Regions from separate parts of the Homo sapiens genome. Here region 2 is linked to region 1. Evidence: promoter capture Hi-C in 16 types of primary human blood cells and fetal thymus (Javierre and others, 2016). All regions are on one chromosome and are shown on one strand. The core of a region is centred on a gene start or on the middle of the fragment in contact, and the rest is flanking DNA. Distances in the headings are between cores, read along the strand shown. Region 1 holds the start of DUSP26 (dual specificity phosphatase 26). Region 2 has its middle 210 kb from the start of WRN.

The links. Contacts are between HindIII fragments. The CHiCAGO score rates a contact against its expected background, and 5 or more counts as called.
Region 2: a fragment that was not itself captured here is called in contact with the fragment with the promoter of DUSP26 in region 1 in 5 of 17 cell types (activated CD4 T cells, total CD4 T cells, total CD8 T cells and 2 more); the score reaches 18.2 in activated CD4 T cells.

Annotation. Positions count from the first base shown.
Region 1 is chr8:33,598,421-33,604,335 of GRCh38, forward strand. DUSP26 (dual specificity phosphatase 26) reads right to left here and starts at 1,603. Exons shown (of 4, transcript NM_024025.3): 1 at 1,245-1,603. The HindIII fragment of the contact is 17,028 bases long and covers 1-5,915 here.
Region 2 is chr8:31,243,020-31,248,132 of GRCh38, forward strand. No RefSeq gene overlaps it. Among named protein-coding and RNA genes, the nearest start is that of WRN, 210 kb to the left of the region's middle. The HindIII fragment of the contact is 6,303 bases long and covers 620-5,113 here.

The DNA.
Region 1 (5,915 bases), core at 353-2,852:
CAGAGGTGGATGGTGGGGGAATTGACGCAGGGTTGGAGTGTTTTGTCTGTGTGTGTCTTGAGGGGAGGGGGGACAGGGGTGGGTGGTGGGGGCCTAGAAAGCAGGAAGGAAAGGGAAAAATGAGGGATCCTGCCAGGTCCAGGGGCTCAGAGGCTTAGAATTACCAACCGTATGGCTGTTGGAGTCAAGTGACCCTACAAAACACGAGGTCAATAACGAGGGGCTTAGCAGGTGTGTCTCAGATTACCTGTTGAGCTGCAGAGCTGGGAAGGACCAGCGTTTGAGGCTTGCCCTGGGACCTTCAGGCAGGGAGGCAACAATGGCAAGGCCCCTTCCCCCTCCCTCCCCATCCTCTCACACCTGTGGTCCTGCCTGTTTGAAAGCAGGAGGTCCTGGAGCCTGCAGAATCCCCTTCCACTCCCTTCCTGGCCTCCTGCCAGGGGGACTTCAACTCTATGACCAGCAGTGAGAGGCCATCTTTGTCCCTGCCCATGCTCTGTCCCCATCTCACACCCCTAGACAGGGCCCAGCTCTCCCTTGCTCCAGTGCCAAGAGAAACCAAGCACTTACAAGGCATTAGAAGCAGGGGTTTTAGGACCAGGATTGGTGAGGGAAGATTGGATGTTAGGGAGTTTAGGGAGAGAGAGTTTTCAATGGCTGGGTCCGGAAGGAGCACAGAAATATAGCACTACAGCCATCATCACCACCACCATCACCATCATCACTACCACCATCACCACCATCACTATCACCATCATCTTCTTCTACCTTTGCACCCAGGCCTAAAGACCCCATTACTGTATTGCAATACAACCTTTCCTCTTAGAGAGTCTGCTGTCTACGAGATGATGAATGGGATGGGGGAAGCGTGAAGGAGCCCAGGTCTAAGAAGGATCTCCGTGGGGCTGTTTTTCCCGGGGGATGCAGAAGCCCCTTTCTGTCCAGGGATACAGCCCTGGGCATTCTCCAATCCCATCCGTCGGCTCCAGGGGCCCTGGCCCGCCGCTCCCTCCCTCCGCCTGCGGTCGCCTTTGTAACAGGTCCATGGCTGTCGCCCCAGTCCTCGCCAGCCTGGCAGCCGGGCCCCGCGCGCGGAGGGAGGGCGCCCGGGAGAGAGAGGCTGGCTCGCTGGGCTCGGGTGCCCGCTTCCCGGTCCCCTCCCTCCCCCGTCGCCCCTAGCTGGGCGCCTCTCCCCAGCGTGGAGAGCCAGCTGAAAAGGCGAAGGCCCGCCGCAGCCCCTCTACCTCTTTGCAAGCGCTGCGCTGGGCCTCAGTCCGAAAGGCGGATCGCCGGCGCAGACAGCGCCACGGCCATGACGCTCCTGCTGCTGTCGCCGCCGCTGTTTCTGCCCAAGACAGGTTGACAGATTAGCAGCTATTTTTAAGCCATGACACACACGTCGAAGCAGGGTTCAAATCAGCGTGTGCGCTGGTGACATAAAGGGACTCGGTCTCACATTCGGTGGCCCGAGTCGCCAGGCAGCGTGGGCTCCCCAGCCAACCCCCCACGAGCCCGCGCGCCTTGCAGACCAGACACGGCCCCGCCGAGCCCCAGCAGCACCGCCTGGAATGCATGCGTGTGTTCTCAGAGCTGCACCAATTACAAAGCGTTTTGCCTAAAGATTACATTATAAGTCATCCCAGGCACTGTCTTAAACACACACACTCCTCCCAGACAGAATTAACTAATTACATAGACACGATTCTGTGCACTGGCTTGTACATGCCTCGGTCTCAAGAAACCGTGTCATAAAGAACAATGGTCCGAAGCCCCCATTAGCCTTCATTATATGCCATGTGCTTCATTTAGCTTAAGGCATTTTATACTCCCCACAAGTCTATGAGGGAGACATAATTACTATTGTCCTAATTTTAGGGAGGAGGCGACCTAGGCACAGAGAGGCTAGGTACTCTGCCCTGGTCACACAGCTCGTTACTGGCAGAGCTGAGCTTGTTCAAACAATGCAGCCTGGCTTTGCAGTTTATGTCCTTAACCACTCTCTAAACCAGTGCCTCCCACAAAATGGAGAAGGCACCATGGATTTCCTTCATTCAGGAAGCCATTTCCACCAGCTCAGCTCATAGTGAACTTCACTTTCCCCAGACTCTCAAAACATTCATCTTCATATTTCTTTCTTTCTTTTTTGAGATGCAGTCCCACTCTGTCGCCCAGGCTGGAGTGCAGTGGCGCAATCTTGGCTCATTGTAACCCGCCTCCCAGGTTCAAGCCATTCTCCTGCCTCAGCTTCCCAAGTAGCTGGGATTACAGGCGCCCGCCTCCATGCCTGGCTAATTTTTTGTATATATTTTTTCTTTGTTTGTTTGTTTTTTAGTACAGATGGGGTTTCACCATGTTGACCAGGCTGGTCTTGAACTCCTGACCTCAGGTGATCCACCCACCTTCTCTCAAAGTGCTCAGATTACAGGCATGAGCCACTGTGTCCGGCCATCTTCATATTAATTTCTCATGTGCTGCCTTCTAGTGACATATTCACTTGATCGGCATTTTTATTGTAAGCACCAAGATTGTAAGCACTTTGAAGGCAGGGACTGTGCTACCTTCCCCAGTGCCTACCTTATTGTGTGAGAGGGAAGTGGGGGAGATGATAAATGTTAGCAGATGATGCTGTTGAGAACTAGGCTGGCTTGAACTCTCGCTGTCTACTAGAAGAAAGGCAGAAAGTAGATTGGCTCAGATTGAAGCTGATGGTGTCAGCTATAGCTGAAACCAGGACTGACTCCATTCCCAGCAGTGGTGGCAGATCAGGTTTTGATCTCTGGGTTAGAGAAAGTACTGGCCAATGTGACCAATCCCCAGGTTCCATGACAGGCTGCCATCCAAGTTTAATGTACCGCCTAGCCTTTTTTTTTCTCTAGAGAAACAAAATTCTTTTCACTTTTCCTTGTCCCTTGTGTTACAGCAGTTTAAATATGAAATGAAATCCTTGTCATTTAAAACAAAGAGGCAGGGCATGGTGGCTCACACCTGTAATCCCAGCACTTTGGGAGGCCAGGGTGGGCAGATCACCTGAGGTCAGGAGTTCGAGACCAGCCTGGCCAACATGGTGAAACCCCATCTCTACTAAAAAACAAAAATTAGCCGGGTGTGGTGGCAGGCGCCTGTAGTCCCAGCTACTTGGGAAGCTGAGGTGGGAGAATCACTTGAACATGGAAGGTGGAGGTTGTAATGAGCTGAGATCATGCCACTGCACTCCAGCCTGAGCGACAGAGCGAGGCTCCCTCTCAACAAACAAACAAAAGCGAAAATAAACAATCAAACAAACAACAAAAAACCCCAAGGAATTGACCTGAGAAATTTGAGATTTTAATTTGCGCATCCAAATTAAAATTTGGATTTAATTTGCAAACCTAGTTAAAACATTATCATAAAAGGAATTGTGAAAGAGCACTTACAAGATCAATATCTTTTTTTTGTTTGTTTGTTTGAGACGGAGTTTTGCTCTTTTTGCCCAGGCTGGAGTGCAATGGTGCAATGTCAGCTCACCGCAACCTCCACCTCCCGGGTTCAAGCGATTCTCCTGCCTCAGCCTCTCAAGTAGCTGGGATTACAGGCATGTGCCACCATGCCTGGCTAATTTGGTATTTTTTAGTAGAGACAGGGTTTCTCCATGTTGGCCAAGCTGGTCTCGAACTCCCGACCTCAGGTGAAGATCAATGTCATTTTAAGTGAAAAGTCTTCAAGATTGGTAGGTTGAGAGGATGTTGTAGGTAAAGCTGATCTCAATCTTTGACAAGACCTCTGTTTCAACCCTGCATTACACTTTTTTCAAAAAGCGGGGAAAATACAGTTTAAAGTACACCACAGACAATGTGTACAGCTGTTTATGGGTAATTATAGAAATTACCTGGGGACTGACATATCCGTGAGGATCATTTTCATGAGTCGATCTATAGCCCACTTGATTTCTTTTGTTTTGTTTTGTTTTGTTTTTTTGTTTGTTTTTTTGATTTTTTTTTGAGGCAGGGTCTCAGGCTGGAGTGCAGTGGTAAAATCATAGCTCACTGCAGCCTCAACCTCCTGGGCTTAAACCATCCTCTTTTAAACGATCCTCTTGCCTCAGCCTCCTAAGTAGCTGGGACTATACAGGTGCATGCCACAATGCCTGGCGATTTTTTTTTCTTTTTTTTTTTTTTAAGACAGAGTCTTGCTCTGTCTCCTAGGCTGGAGTGCAGTGGTGTGATCTTGGCTCACTGCAACTGCTGCCTCCCCAGTTCAAGCAATTCTTGTGTGTCGCCTCCTGAGTAGCTGGGATGACAAGTGCATGCCACCACACCTGGCTAATTTTTGTATTTTTTGTAGAGATTAGGTTTCACCATGTTGGCCAGGCTGGTCTCAAGCTCCTGACCTCAGGTGGTCTGCCCGCCTCAGCCTCCCAAAGTGCTGGGATTATAGGCCAGAGCCACCATGCCCTGCCAATCAGCTCATTTTATCTCACCCATATATTAAATTGGTGTCATCATTCTGATTGAATACCTGAGAGAGACTGACATTTGGTCAGATTAGTTAACTCATCCACATCTAGTGTGTGGCAGGACACAGGTTCAAACCCAGGGCTATCTTATTTGAAACTTCAGTGTTTCAAGACTAGGCTGGAGAATCGTTTCCTCTGTAAAGCCTTTTTGGATTCACTCTTTTTTTTTTTCGAGACCAAGTCTTGCTCTGTTGCCCAGGCTGGAGTGCAGTGGCATGATCTCAGCTCACTGCAACCTCTGCCTCCTGGGTTCAAGCAATTCTCCTGCCTCATCCTCCTGAGTAGCTGGAATTATAGGCATGCACCACCATGCCCAGCTAACTTTTTGTATTTTTAGTAGAGACGGGGTTTCACCAAGTTGGCCAGGTTGGTCTCGGGCTCCTGACCTCATGATCTACTTGCCTCAGCCTCCCAAAGTGCTGGGATTATAGGTGTGAGCCACCGTGCCCGGCCTGGATCCACTCTTTTTTTTGTTTGTTTTTTGAGATGAAGTCTTGCTCTGTCACCCAGGCTGGAGTGCAGTGGCTCAGTCTCAGCTCACTGCAACCTCCACCTCTCGGATTCAAGCAGTTCTCCTGCATCAGCCTCCCAAGTAGCTGGGATATAAGAGTGTGCCACCGTGCCTGGCTAAATTTTGTATTTTTAGTAGAGACAGGATTTCGCCATCTTGGCCAAGCTGGTCTCAAACTCCTGACCTCAAGTGATCTGCCTGCCTCGGCCTCCCAAAGTGCTGGGATTACAGGCATGAGCCACTGTGCCCAGCCTGGATCCACTCTTATTTGTCCGTTTCCTTCTTTGTGCTCATATACACTTCCATCAAAGGACCTATGAGCTATATTTGTTTCACTTATTTATACACTTATTTAAATTCATATTGCCCGTACTAGAAGCACGAATGGATACACTATGCTGGGATGAAGAGATTAGAGATGGAAAAATAAGGCTATGGAAAGATAAAGATAGGGCCAGGAACTGCAGCTCGTATGCCTGTAATCCCAACACTTTGGCGGACCGAGGTGGGAGGATTTCATGAAGCCAGGAGTTGGAGACCAGCCTAGGGAACATAGTGAGACCATGACTCTACAAAAAATAAAGAATTAGCTGGCCATGGTGGCAAGCACCTGTAGTCCTAGCTACTCAGGAGGGTGAGGTGGGAAGATCGCTGGAGCCCAGGAGTTTGAGGCTGCCGTGAGTCATGATTGTGCCACTGCACTCCAGCCTGGGTGACTCAAAAAAAAAAAAAAGACAAAAATAGATTTCAAAATAGTTCTGAAAGAAATGATTAAATAAATATACAGACAGGGAGGTGTTCAAAAATAGAATGTGGGAAAAAAGAAAAAACAAGAATGACCATCAAAATATGGCATATGTTAAAGGTCAATTCTAACTGCTACCATTTAATTATGGGCTGGGCTTTACATAC
Region 2 (5,113 bases), core at 2,521-5,020, 2.4 Mb before region 1:
AGTTTTTGGTTATAAGAAGTAATCTAGGACACTAAATTGAGAGCTATTGGTTATATGGAAAAAATGTGGTCTGACTTATTGATGAAGATGAGGGACCTATGATTTGAGTATTCAGTGAGGTTAAAAAAACACCACTCAGCTGGGCGCCATGTCTCACACCTGTCATCTTAGCACTTTGGGAGGCTGAGGTAGGAGGATTGTTGAGCCCATGAGGTCCAGACCAGCCAGGGAAGCAAAGTGGGGCCTCATCTGTATAAAAATAAAAAATTAGCTGGGTAGGGTGGTGCACCGGTAGTCCCAGCTACTTAGGAGGCTGAGGTGGGAGGATCCCTTAAGCCTAGTGTGTCCGGAATTGGTAGGGTCTTGGTCTCACTGACTTCAAGAATAAAGCCGCGGACCCTCGCAGTGAGTGTTACAGTTCTTAAAGGCGGCGTGTCTGGAGTTTGTTCCTTCTGATGTTCAGATGTGTTCAGAGTTTCTTCCTTCTGGTGGGTTCGTGGTCTCGCTGGCTTCAGGAGTGAAGTTGCAGACCTTCATGGTGAGTGCTACAGCTCATAAAGGCAGTGTGGACCCAATGAGTGAGCAGCAGCAAGATTTATTTTAAAGAGCGTAAGAACAAAGCTTCCAAAGTGTAGAAGGAGACCCCAGCGGGTTGCCACTTCTGGCTGGCACAGCCTGCTTTTATTCCCTTATCTGGCCCCACCCACATCCTGCTGATTGGTCCATTTTACAGAGAGCCGATTGGTGTGTTTTACAGAGAGCTGATTGGTCCATTTTGACAGGGTGCTGATTGGTGCATTTACAGTCCCTGACCTAGACACAAAAGTTCTCCACCTCTCCACTAGATTAGCTAGATACAGAGTGTCTATTGGTGCATTCACAATCCCTTAGCTAGACAAAGATTCTCCAAGTCCCCACCAGATTAACTAGATATAGAGTGCCGATTGGTGCATTTACAAACCCTGAGCTAGACACAGCGTGCTGACTGGTGTGTTTACAATCCCTTAGCTAGACTTTATAAAGGTTCTCCAAGTCCCCACTAGACTCAGGAGCCCAGCTGGCTTCACCCAGTGGATCCCGCACCAGTGTGGCAGGTGGAGCTGCCTGCCAGTCCCAGCCGTTAGCCCGCACTCCTCAGCCCTTGGGTGGTCGATAGGACTGGGCTCTGTGGAGCAGGGAGCAGTGCTCGTTGGGGAGGCTCGGGCCGCGCAGGAGCCCACGGCATGGTGGGGGAGGCTCAGGCATGGTGGGCTGCAGGTCCCCAGCCCTGCCCCATGGGGAGACAGCTAAGGCCCAGTGAGAAATCGAGCACGGCAGCTGCTGGCCCAGGTGCTAAGCCCCTCACTGCCCAGGGCCGGTCGGGCGGCCGGCAGCTCCAAGTGCGGGGCCCACCGAGCCCACGCCCACCCGGAACTCACGCTGGCCAGCAAGCGCCGCGCACAGCCCCGGTTCCCGCTCCCGCCTCTCCCTCCACACCTCCCCGCAAGCTGAGGGAGCCGGCTCCGGCCTTGGCCAGCCCAGAAAGGGGCTCCCACAGTGCAGTGGTGGGCTGAAGGGCTCCTCAAGCGTGGCCAGAGTGGGCGCCAAGGCCGAGGAGGCGCCAAGAGTGAGCGAGGGCTGCCAGCAGGCTGTCATCTCTCACTAGGAGGTGGAGGCTGCAGTGAGCCGTGATCACTCCACTGCACTCCATCCTGAGTGACAGAGAGAGACTGTCTCAAAAAACCAAACCAAAACAAAACAAAAACACCATTCAGTGTGCTTAATGTTGCAAGAAGAAATAGAATAAAAAAAATTTGAAACACAATTTTGTGCATTTATCAGCACTAAAATGTTGATTGGTATAATTAAGTATGTAAATGAAATTGGTGGGATTTAAATATTTTGTAGCTCTGTGTACGTGAATGTGTCCATGTCTGTGTGTTTGTGCATGGTGAGTACAGTGAGTAGAATTTGGGCCTATAGATTAAAAAAACAAAAACAAAAACACAAAAACAAAAAAACACTGAGTTTCTCCCTGGGAAACTTTGTGAATGTGATTGAAGAATTGATTTATTTTTCACTTCTCAGTGATACACAATTTTTCTTTAAGCCTGATCGAGTTTCTGTTTGCTTTTCTTATAGAGTATTAAGGTTTAATTCCTGATCTTAGCTGTTGGATAAATGTGCCATTAACCCTGCTGTTTTATAGAATCAGGCCCGCCAGCTGTCCCTAATAGCTTTTCTCCCCAGTAGCCCCTTTGATATCCTGAACCAACAGTGTGCTGTGTGTGTCCAGGACTTGTATTTTGAAATGCCGTGACACCTAGTCCTTTATTGGAAGAGAGGGCATTCTCACCAAGGTGGGGTGTTTGAAAGTCCAAGGAAGCAGATGTGCTGTGAGAAGCCCCATAGATATTAGTATGTCCATTTATAGAACACTTAGAGAGAACCCAGCTGTGTGAGGATGCCACTGTGGGCTGAATTATTAAAGGCAACAGTCAGATCCAATAAAGTGCAGGAACCCAAGACAGAAAAGCAGTTATGAAAGAATTATTGACCTATCTAAAAAAAAAAAGGAAGGGAATCTGCAAATGCTAGCTTCCTGGGTCATGTCAGAGGTAAATAATCAGTTCGACTCCCTCTTCTTTGCAGAACTAAGGCTGCCCCTTGGTAGACTTGTGCCAAGCATGAGGATGGCCCAGGTCTCCATGCTACCTTCCCCTGAGAGCCTCTGCCTCTGTGGATAAGCCTTCTGAAGCACTGGGCGCCTCAGGCTGCCTGCTGCCTGCTGACGATTCTACTGAAGGGTAGATTCATGTACCACTTTTTCCTACTTTAAACTCAGTATTTCCCTGTCTAATGACATATGTACTTTTTGAAGCTCTGCTAACTGCTCTACGTGAACAATCAAGTTAGTTCTTCTATGTGTGTTCCACAATGACTTATATTCTTCCCACAGGTATAACATCTTAACTGTCAAAATGCACACTTCTGGCCTGGTATGGTGGCTCATGCCTATAACCCTAGCAGTTTGGGAGGCCGAGACAGGTGGATCACTTGAGGTCAGGAGTTAGAGACTAGCCTGGCCAACATGGTGAAACCCTGTCTCTACTGAAAATACAAAAATTAGCTGGGCCTGGTGCAGCACGTCTGTAGTCCCAGCTACTCGGGATGCTGAGGCAGGAGAATCACTTGAACCCGGGAGGCAGAGGTTGCAATGAGCTGAGATCTCGCCACTGCACTCTAGCCTGGTGACAGAGCGAGATTCTGTTAAAACAAAACCAAACATAACACCCACTTCTTTAAAAGATGGAAGAGTAATTCTTATGGCAACACAGAGCTGGAAGAGATGTTGGAGATAGTTCAAGTTCCATCCACTCATTTCATAACTGAGGCAAGCAAGCCCTGCTGAGGTGAAAGCACCCTCCAGAGTTATGCAACCACTTACTGCCTAGGCAGAAACCAGACCCTGCTCTCTTGGCTCAGAGACAAGTGCAGGGAAAATTGGTCACAACAGAATATAGGACTCAGATTTTAGTTGTTGTTAGGAGGCATAGGAGTGCTTCCCAAGTCACGGAGCCCTTTCTTATTTCCTTTTTATTTTTTTTTTGAGACAGGGCCTTGCTCTGTCACCCAGGCTGAAACACAGTGGCACCATCTTAGCTCACTGCAGCCTCAACCTTCTGTACTCAAGCGATCCTCCTACCTCAGCCTCCCAAAGTGCTGTGGGCTGGGCGTGGTGGCTCACACCTGTAATCTTGCTGTGAGCCACCATGCCTGGTCCACAGAGCATTTTTTTTTTTTTTTTTTTTTTTTTGAGATGGAGTCTCAGTCTGTCACCCAGTCTGGAGTAGAGTGGCACGGCCTCGGCTGACTGCAACCTCTGCCTTCTGGGTTCAAGCAATTCTCCTCTCTCAGCCTCCCAAGTAGCTGGGATTACAGGTGCCTGCCACCATACCTGGCTAATTTTTGTATTTTTAGTAGAGACAAGGTTTTGCCATGTTGGCCAGGCTGGTCTTGAACTCCTGAACTCAAGTGATTCACCTGCCTCAGCCTCCCAGAGTGCTGGGATTACAGGCATGAGCCACTGTGCTTGACTCCACAGAGCCTTTTCTACATGTAGGATATTATGCTTAAAGCTGGGAATAAAAAAGAAGGAAGATACTGATCTTTCCTTTGAGGAAGGACAGTATAAATATGCTTAAGCGATCCATCAATTCTAGAGGAAAAAAATATGCACAAACTGATTTGTGGATCAAAACTACCTCTTGAGATGCCGGGTCTCATACAACCCACATATTTCCTTTAATTACTGTTACCATCGCATTTTACAATTGTTTTGTGTCAAATGTTATAAACTCAAGGGTCACTGAAGGTCATTGAAGTATAGGGGTTACCTCATCTTTTTATGCTGACGATGAGAGTAAATTTTTTAAAATTAAAAAAATTTTTTAAGAGGCAGAGTCTTGCTCTGTTGCCCAGGCTGGAGTACAGTGGTGCCATCATAGCTTACTGCAGCCTCAAACTCCTGGGCTTAAGTGATTCTCCTACCTCAGCCTCTCAAGTAGCTAGGACTACAGATGCGTGCCACCATGCCTAATTTTTTTATTTTTTGTATAGACAACGTCTTGCTATGATGCCCAGGCTGGTCTTGAACTCCTGGCTTCAAGCAATCTTTTCTCCTCAGCCTCCCAAAGTGTTGGGATTACAGGCATGAGCCACGATGCCCTGCCGAGAATAAATTCATTTGAATTACTCTAAAATTTAGAAGGAAATGAAAGGAAATGGAAGAATCAGGTTTGTCTTGAAACTGAAGGAGAAATAGGATGGTTTAAAAATGAGGCTTTGGGTTTGACTTGAGAATGGAAATACTTGGGAAGTGAAAGGAAAACTAAGGAAAGGTTGTTAATTGAGCTGGAGGAAGGAAAGAATTTTCTTAGGAGACAAGCTGAGGTCTTACAAGTCAGGTCAGACAGATATGAAATATGTCATATCTGTGTTTCTTTACAGATGGGGCTTGGGAAGGGGGATCTTATTATGGTTAATAGATTGTTGTTTGAAGGGCAGCCCATTTATAAATGTCACTGTTCCCTGTCTGAATTCTGAACCAATTAGGTATGAAGGTGGTATGAAC